Linked DNA regions of Homo sapiens: region 2 is linked to region 1. Evidence: promoter capture Hi-C in 16 types of primary human blood cells and fetal thymus (Javierre and others, 2016). All regions are on one chromosome and are shown on one strand. Each heading gives the region's core, a stretch centred on a gene start or on the middle of the fragment in contact. The rest is flanking DNA. Distances are from core to core; before and after follow the strand shown. Region 1 holds the start of PNPLA4 (patatin like domain 4, phospholipase and triacylglycerol lipase). Region 2 has its middle 610 kb from the start of FAM239C.

Region 1 (4,891 bases), core at 30-2,529:
TGGCAATACAAAAAACAAAAATGCTGTAAGTTGGAATAGTTTATCCCACATACTGTGTAGTCTTATGTTGATCATCGTTCCAAGGCTTTCTTCTAACATCATTCTCTGTTTTAAGCACAGTGGTTTCAATTAATTCTAATTAAACACAAGAATCTTTCAAGGAAACCCTTTCTTTCCCTCCTCACCTTGACCCAAGTCTTATACATTAAAACAAAACAAAACAAAAACATTCCACATTTATTCGGTACATAGATTATGAATCTACGATTTAATTACTTGGCAGGAAACAGACGTATAAATTCCAGTTGACAAGGGCATTTGGTCTTTTCTCTTGACCCTTTGAAACGTTTTGCGGGTGGGGGCGGCACTACCATTATGAAACAGAAAATTATTAGAGACCGTATCAAATTCCAAATGAACAATACATTTGTTCTTGGTAAGTGTATCAGAAGATTTCAAATACAGTTCCCTACTCCCCTTCCCAATTTCTATTGTGAGCACCCATGCTTTTATGAACGCCAATACAATTACTCAGTAACGCAATAAGCAATCACTCAACAATGCAATACATTTCTTTGCCAAGTATCTCAACACAAACTGAGGTCATGCCTGGTGAAGGCAATTTAAGGCTCTATGAAATGTCAGCCACGCCACTTTATACTTGGAACACATCTAAATACAAAATTACATGTTTTCCTATGCCTCAGTGCGCACAATTTGCCCAAGTGAATGAAATTGTGCCTCCACAAGGCTGTCCATTCTGAAGGTCTCAGGGTTTCCTTGGGGGCCCAAGGGCCCCATTCAGGGACCCCAAGATGAGGCACATTACAGGGCCTCGAATTTAGGGACCTAAGACCGCCTGTTCCTGATGCACCCGGCCAGGCCCTGTGAGGGCAGGTGGCTCGGCCGCCGCAGGCTGCGCTGGCGTCCGCGTAGGCTGAGTCCCAGTCATCGATCCGGGGTCAAGCCCCAGTTTTGATTCCACTTCTGCAAATGGGGACGGGAAGGGGGTTGGGTGTGTAGCAACCAGGCGGCCAGGCCCAGCCAGCACAGGCTCAGTGCCCTCCCGCGGCTTGGAGGCCGGCAGGGCCGGGGTGGTCCCCGCATCAGTCCCGCAGGAGCACACCCTTGCTGGGCCCCAGGGCTCCGTACCAATGCAGCCCCGGGACACTTCCGTGTTGAACGAGTCCCTTTAACCAGATGGCGGGGCCGGGCCGTCACTCAACGCCATTCCGCCACCAAGGCCGCGCTACGCTCTCCGCGAGCCGGCCCAGGAAAGTCCTGCGGCAGGGGTTGGTACCGCCTCCCGCGCAGGTATGTGACGTCATCGCGCCGACGAAGGCGCCCGCTAGGCCCCGCCTGCTCTATTTAAACTTCTGGACTCAACCTGGCCGCTAGACCGGAGCGTCCTCCAGCGCAGGCAAGGATTCCTCGTTTAGAGTCATGTTATCTTCGAGTACCTAGAGAGACATTTTAACCCACACCCTAGAGAGGCGTTGTAATCCTTACGTGTCTTTTAACGCTACTTGGCCCTTACCTGCGAGCAACTGACCTTTAATAATCCTCATTTTCTGTGCCCCGGAAGTGCCTTACCCTCTTCGCGTCTGTTTCCCGGAAGTGGTTCTTCTCCCTCTCCACCCTTTCGCCCGCCTGGGCGGTCCAGCTGCCCCTAGGGGCCAACTCCAGCGGCTATTTTGGGGCTGGACATCCCGCAGCTTTTCAAGGCGTGCCTTTGGTTTTTTTAAGAAGTGCTATCTAAAGGAAAAGCTGGACTATGACTCTGGGGAACTTTCATATCCTCAGTTGACCTTAGGCTGTGTGACCTTGAGCAGGTAGCATAACCTCTCTGAGTTTCCCGCGTGCCTTATGTGCAGATTGAGATGCTAAAATGAGAGAGCTAAATTGGAAAGCTTTTTCCACATAGGGGGCCGTGAGCAGGTGGCTGTTTTGTCCTCTGGCACCTTTGGCTCAGACTTAAGCAGCTTCAACGACCGCCAAGATGCCTGCCATGCCCACCAAGATTTAAAGGACTCTGATAATTCTTTCTCTCCCCAAACGGTGTTTTCCTTATCTAATCCTAATAACCAAGCCTGGAGGAATCCCTGACTTCGTGATTGAAGGCTCTCCAGGTCCCCTAGTTTAAGGGCAGAGATTTACTTTCTCTGAGGCTACAAAGGAGCGTCTGCGAGAATGTCTCTACCTTAGACAAAACAGGGAGGAGGGGTGGAGCTCTCCAAATTGCCTCTGGTTTGGGCTTTTTCTTTCTGTTTTGGTGTATCGTCTCTGGCCAACAACACCTGTGAGTCCTTGATGTGACGATTAGGGAAGATGTTTTTAATTCACATAACTATTCTTTAGAGAAAATTGATCCTGAAACACCTTATTGCCTTATCGTAGAATGACTGCATTACTCAGAATTCTTTACCTCTACCGGAATTTAGTGAAGGGAAGGCACAACGTACATTAGGAAAATACAGGACACACTCCAGTCCTTAAACCTTCCACAATCTTCTAGCTCTTTAAGGTCGAGTGTGATCCTCCCCAGAACTGCATCTTCCAGGAAGCTCATGAGAAAGGAAGGATCCCAGGTCCCATCTCTGATCTGAGTCGGCATCTGCGTTTTAACAGAATCCTGAAGCAGTGGTCTAACTCCTTTGGTGGTGTTATTGTTTGCATGTATACCTCCAAAATTCACATATTGAAATACTAACCCCCAAGGTGATAGTATTAGGAGGTGGGGCCTTTGGGAGGTAATTAAGTCATGAGGGTGAAGCCCTCATGAATGGGATTAGTACTCTTAGAAAAGGGACCCCAGAGAGGTCTCTTTCCACCATGTAAGGATAAAAGTACACGGAGAAGATGGCAATCTGCAAACTGGAAAAGGGCCCTCCTCAGAACCTGACCATCTTGGCACCTTGATCTCAGACTTCCATCTTCCAGAACTGTGAGAAATAAATTTCTTTTATAAACACTCAGTCAATGCTACTTTATTATAGCAGCCTGAATGGATTAAGACAGGTGGTCTGGTTTAAAGTGATGTGGTGGCATCAGAAGTTTAAGGAGAGACTGGATTTACAGAACCAGAATCTGGGATGCTGTTTACAGAGCAAGTTATTTCCTGCATTTGGACACTGTCAGCAGGTCGATTCAGGAGACAGGTGAAAACTTTATCACCGGGCAGCCTGGATGAACACCACAACTTTGATATCTTTCACTTAAAGGAAAGATAAGGGCATCCACTATTTCTACACCTGGCTGGCAGAGTGAGAGCTCACCAAAGGTAAGTCTCTTTGGAGCAGCAAAATGCTCCATAATTTAACTCTTAAAATTTTAAATTTATTTCCTCCTTACTCCCTTCAATCCCGTATCATATCTCCATGTAACTAGTTAAAAGTTCAGCTCTCAGCTGGGTGAGGTGGCATGTGCCTGTAGTCTCAGCCACTCAGGAAGCTGAGGTGGGAGGATTGCTTGAACCTAGGAGTTCATCTTCAGCCAGAGCAATGTAGTGAGACCTCATCTCTAAAGAAAAAACAAAAAACAAAAAAAGTTCAGCTTTCTAATGTAAGGAAGGATATATTCATTCACATTTGTCTTTGTCATCTCATCGCCAAGCTTAGCACTTGGCCCATAGTATATGATCAATAAATATTTGTTTTGGATGTTGGATTTATGTAAATTACCATTGTGATCTGAATATATAGTAATTTAATTGCTCTTTGAAACTTTTTTTTCTGTAATTAATTTGCTTATTTTTGCTCGTCTATTTTCCTTAGTAATTTAGTTTCAAACGGGTTTGTTTATTTAGCCATTTACGTAATTATTAATCATCTGTTGTATAGCAAGTGTTACGTTGGTACAGGGCATACACAGTTGAAAGAATTCAGCCCTTATCAGGGATGCAGAGTCCAGTGGATAGGGAGACATCTGATGTGTAATTACAGAGGCGTGATGATGTGGTATTGCAAAGCCATGCACAGATGCCCTGGTTGTGCACACCAGCTACGGAGTAGGAAACCTTTAGCTTCGGGAGGTGCCTACAGTAGCACCCAGCACAGAAACAAAATGCCCCAGCTTGATGGCTCCTTTTCCTCTCCAGTGCTTCCTCTCAGGAGATTTTATCCTGTATCCCATAAGGGAGGAGAAATGGACATGGGTAAGTGTTGCTTGTCCACACCTCTGCTCCAGGGAAAGGACCATATCTCAGAATCTTTGAGTCTAATCAGTTCTTTCAGTCTACTCTCCTTGTGGTGTTATTTCATTTTCCAGTCTTGGCATTTTTTTTTTTTTTTTGAGACAGAGTTTTGCTCTTGTTGCCCAGGCTAGAGTGCAATGGCGCCATCTCAGCTCACCGCAACCTCCGCCTCCCGGGTTTAAGCGATTCTCCTGCCTCAGCCTCCCGAGTAGCTGGGATTACAGGCATGTGCCACCACGCCCTGCTAATTTTGTATTTTTAATAGAGACGGGGTTTCTCCATGTTGGTCAGGCTGGTCTCGAACTTCTGACCTCAGGTGATCTGCCCGCCTCGGCCTCCCAAAGTGTTGGAATTACAGGCGTGAGCCACTGTGCCCGGCAGGCATCTTAACACCTCTTGTCGGTCAACGTTACAAGTGCTTTGGTTTTTTAAAAAAACAAATCTCTTGTCGTGTATTCAATATGCTTTGCTTATTCTGCCTCCTGCTTGATAACTGCTCTTCTTTGTCACTTCCTCCCCAAATCTTGCAAACTGATCCCGATGAGCTGTGGAGCTTAGATACATGCACTTTAATTTCAGGGGAGTGTGGCAACACTGCTGGAGCACTGCCCTTTCCATGGGGGCTTCAAAGTGATACTCATGATAACATGCCCTCTGTGCCTAGTTTAAGCAATATCTTGTCTTGAGACCACCATGGAG
Region 2 (4,713 bases), core at 528-3,027, 3.4 Mb before region 1:
TTTGAAGCTGTTGGACTTGGAATAAGCCACTACCAGTTTCTGTCTTTCCCAGCTTGCAGATGGCCTATGGTGGGGTGTCACCTTGTGATGGTGTGAGCCAATTCTCCCTAATAAACTCCCTTTCATATAGACATAGAACCTATTAGTTCTTTCCCTCTGGGGAACCCTGACGAATATATAGTGCAAACAATCAGGCTGAAATACAAGGAAAGGCAGGCGTTTCTAAGGTGAGATGGGATGTGTGTACATCTTACCTTGAACAGACACAGAAAACACACAAATGGATAAGACACATGTGGAGAAAGTCTTAAAGGGCTTGCTGAGGCTGACAGTGGACTAGCATAAAGTTGTAGGACCTCTGGGAGATGCAGCCACAAGAGGAATTTGCAGCTGTCACCGAGTCTTCACAAACTTTACCTGTTACCTACTAGGAAGACTGGGGACAAGTTGAGGGAACTGAAAAAGCCCCCAAGATGATGTCTTGGGAGAGTTGAACAGTAGTGGCAGAGACTCTTCTCCATGAGTCTCTTGTCCTCCATATCTTATGGGTGTGCTAAGTAAGAATGCCAGGTGCTGACCACTCTTTCCCTAGAGTATTTCTCAGGGTTGTGGCTCTACTACATGTTCGACCTTGAAGGAGCAGGTGACATCTTCCTCCAGGACAAAGAGCAGGCTCTGCTTATCGGGGGTTATGAAGTGGCCGACTTTTCCCAGGCTCTGTATCTCCCTCCTATAAGGCAGCCCATAGCAGGTGTAGGTTCCCATCCAAGTTCATCCTCAGCACCCCCTTGTGGTCCTGAGAAAAAGAAGCTGATGCTCTGGCAATGGCTTTGCTGGAAACAAGTCTCTAGTCTTAGACCTAAAAGTTCTGTGTCTTCTGCCAGCATCCATAGAATGGCAGCATTGCAGCAAGCTATTTTATTAACTTGCAAACAGGATATACTCCCAGACTCTTCATAGTTCTTGATGGGAAGTCACTCCTGGTTTGCAGTTTGCAGGTGGAACAAAAGTCTTCAGTTGCAGGAAATCCTGTGCAGCTGAAGATCCTCTGTAGCCTTAAGAAAATAATAATAATAGTTTTATTATGTGTTATACTATATATAATGAGTATTATATACAATATACACAGCTGACCCTGGAACAACATGAGTTTAAACTATGGGGATCCACTTATCAGTGGATTTCAGTAGGCTGCTAGCTAAGTTTTGGTGGAATTAAAAGCTATATGTGAACTATTTTTGAGACGGAGTCTCACTCTGTCACCCAGGCTGGAGTGCAGTGGCACAGTCTCAGCTCACTGCAACCTCCCCCTCCCGGGATCAAGTGATTTTCCTGCCTCAGCATCCTGAGTAAGCTGGGACTACAGGCATACACCACCATGCCTGACTAATTTTTGTATTGTTAGTAGAGATGGGTTTCACCATGTTGCCCAGGCTGGTCTTGAACTCCTGACCTGAAGCGACCTGCCCACCTTGTCCTCCTAAAGTGCTGGGATTACAGGCGTGAGCCACCGTGCCCAGCCTATATGTGAACTTTTAACCATACAGGGGATTGGTGCCCCTAAGCCTCGCCCTGTTCAAGGGTCAACTGTACACAATCATATAATATGAATATAATTGTATATAATTCATTGTGTATACTATATATAGTTATACATATATTATGTACAATTTTATACCTTATATTCTATATTATGTCATGTATAATATATTTAAATATATAATATATAATATATATTTTATAACATTAATTAGCAATATTTTTTGTTTTTAATATAATATAGTATGTTATATATATCTATATCTATCTATAAAATCTACCATGTATCTATGTATCTTCTATCATCTATCATCTATCATTTATCTATGTCTCATGTATCTATTACCTATGTATGTATGTATGTATGTATGTATCTATCTATCTATCTATCTATCTATCTATTTATTATCTATCTATCCCTCTATGCTGGTGAGGGGATGAGAAGGGCACTTTACCTCTGTGGTATTTGTTCCCAACATTCCCTAACCCCACTCTAATGATAAGACAAACAGGAGACAAATGTGGCATGGGAAATATTCCACAGACTACTTGAACAGTACTCAAGACTGTCATGAAAAAGCAAGGGAAGTCTGAGAAAGGGCCACAGACAGGACATGGGGGAGGGGTGACAAGTAAGTGCAGTGTGATCCCTCAATGGGATCCTGAGACAGAAAAAAAAAAAAAGTTCATAAAAAGCCGGTGGAATCTGACCAAAGGTCTGAAGTGTACTTAGGAGTGCTGTGTCAATGATGTCGGATTCTTAGTTTTGACAAGTACAGCACAGCCACATTAGATGTTAATAATGAGAGGAACTGCTTGAGAGTTGCACAGGGACTTCCTGTACTCCATGGCAATCATTCAATCAAGCCCATTTAAAAAATTCCGTTTTAAGAAATGCACAGTCTGGTACACCAAACCAACAATCCAATTAAAAAATTGGCAAGTTGTTTGAATAGAGACTTTACCAAAGATGTTACAGAATATAGGCTCATGAAAAGATGCTCAACATCTTTAGTCCATAAGGAAATGCAAATTACTACCACAGGGAAATGTTACCACGCATGAGTGTGAATGTCTAAAATTTAAATCAACATACAAGAACAAAAATACTAAAACAAAACCCTAATGATATGAAGCGTCAGTGAGGAGGGGGAATAGCAGAGAACCCTCATATGTTGTTGGTGGGAACGCAGAATGGTACAAGCACAGGAAAACAGAGCGGTGGCTTCTTACAAAACTAAATATGCAAGTACTACTGAAACAGGAGAGTTCCCTGACCTACCCTGCAGGACGTGTAACAGGGGTGTGGCATGTCTGTCCTGCTGCCTTGGCTCAAACCCCTTGTGGAAGGGGAATCACACAGACAGGCAGACGCAGGAGCTGGAGCAAGTGCTTTTGGGCTCTGACTCCATGGTAGCTTCTAGGGGTGGGTGCCTGCAACTCCTGAAGTCCCAGTGGGTGTGTTACAGTGCTCTTTTAGCTCTGCCATCCACAGACCACTTAAGTGTTAACCAGCTCAGTGCCCTCTTGGTACCCAGGTTCTTGTCTGGCATCTAGGAAAAATCAGGACACACAGACAAACTGAAGAATAGTAAATGCAGGGGATTTTATTGCCAGATGGAGGTGGCTATCAGTGAGATGGATGAGGAGCTGGAAAGCGGATGGAGTGGGAAGATAATCTTCCCCTGGAGTTTGGCTGTTACATGGCTGATGTCCTCTCTGACCATCCCCAGCCAAACTCCTCTCAATGTTCAAATGCTCCTTCTCTTCTCTTCTTCTCTCCTTCTCTGCTGCGCTGTTCTTCTGCTCCTCTGCTCTTCTGCTCATAGAGCCTGGGGTTTGGGGTTTATATGGGTACAAAATAGGGGGGTGTTGTGGGCCAAAAGGCAACATTTGGGTGTGAAAATAGGAATACCTGTTTCCATTTAGGGCCATGGGTTTCCAGGCTTGAGGATGTGGCTTTTGCCAGGGAACCACCCTCTTCTACACAGTATTTCCCTGCCTCCTGTCCATATCACTACCCGACCCAATATGACCCAGAAATCCCCTCCTAAGTGTTGCCAAAGAGAAATAAAACATTAGTGTCGGTTAAAAAAATACCTGTCATTGAGTATTCATTGTGGCTTTAATTGTAATCATGAAAAAATGGAAACAACACAGATGTTCTTTAATGGATTTGAGGATTAAATAAAACAAAACAAAACTGGAGTATATGTATAGAATGAAATACCATCCAGCAATACAAAAGGAACTAATTGCTGATATATGCAACAATGGGGGAACCTCAACTGTATTAACCTATGTGAAACAAGCCAATGTCAATAGGGTGCGTATTGCATTACCCATTTATAAAATATTCTGGATAATGCACTATATGGAGAGATTAGTGGTTAGATTAGTGGTACCGGTGGGCTGAGGTGATAGCAAGGGGTTATTGTCAAAAGGTCAAAGCATGATGTGTAGGTTGAGACACTACTTTATGCATGGGTTATATTGTCAATATGCTTACTATTTTTATCAAAACTTGCCAAACCTACAATAAAAAGAGTGAGTTTTACTTTAGATACCAGATAACCACAATTATTTTTAAAATCATCATTATGAGAACACCCACAAATATATGAAACATATAGGAGGTGCCAGGCTTGGGGAAACAAAATTTAGAAGATTTGGTTCTCACAATTCCCTCTGTGAGTTAGAAACCACGATTTATCTTCAGCATAGAAGAGAAAACCAAAGCTCATAATGGGTTGACCACACGTCCTCGGTCACACAACAGAGAATGCTCAAATGCAGATTGGATTAGCTCCAAAGTCCATACCTTTCTGAGTATCTCTCTGCAGTTCTTACTTTCCAGCACAATCATAAAGCTTTGGGGGAAAATATGGAAAGCAGAGAGTTCAAAGGGTAGTGAGACAGGGGCACACATAATAAATTTGTTACTAAAAAGAATAATTAGTCATATCTCTTTGACATTACATGGGGCTGTAAGACTGTCAGTGCTCTTGATAATAAAAAATGTATTGAAAGACTTGATGGGAATGAAAATGCCTCAGATGAAACATATAGTTTTGTTTTATTTATTTTTTATTGTCGATTTTTGTGGGCACATAGTAGGTTTATCTATATATGGGTTACATAAGATGGGTTACATAAGATATGGGTTACATAAGA

The links. The method cuts DNA at HindIII sites, captures the fragments that hold promoters and counts their contacts. A CHiCAGO score of 5 or more calls a contact.
Region 2: a contact is called between a fragment that was not itself captured here and the fragment with the promoter of PNPLA4 in region 1, in 5 of 17 cell types (endothelial precursors, fetal thymus, naive CD8 T cells and 2 more). The highest score is 15.2, in endothelial precursors.

The regions. Positions count from the first base shown.
Region 1 is chrX:7,926,134-7,931,024 of GRCh38, forward strand. PNPLA4 (patatin like domain 4, phospholipase and triacylglycerol lipase) reads right to left here and starts at 1,280. Exons shown (of 7, transcript NM_004650.3): 1 at 1,153-1,280. LOC107985675 (a long non-coding RNA gene) reads left to right here and starts at 1,367. Exons shown (of 5, transcript XR_001755784.2): 1 at 1,367-3,280. RefSeq lists a silencer at 1-9 and enhancers at 1-35, 698-927, 1,158-1,397, 1,418-1,467, 1,808-1,887. The HindIII fragment of the contact is 3,086 bases long and covers 1-1,908 here.
Region 2 is chrX:4,549,430-4,554,142 of GRCh38, forward strand. No RefSeq gene overlaps it. Among named protein-coding and RNA genes, the nearest start is that of FAM239C, 610 kb to the left of the region's middle. The HindIII fragment of the contact is 5,259 bases long and covers 1-4,407 here.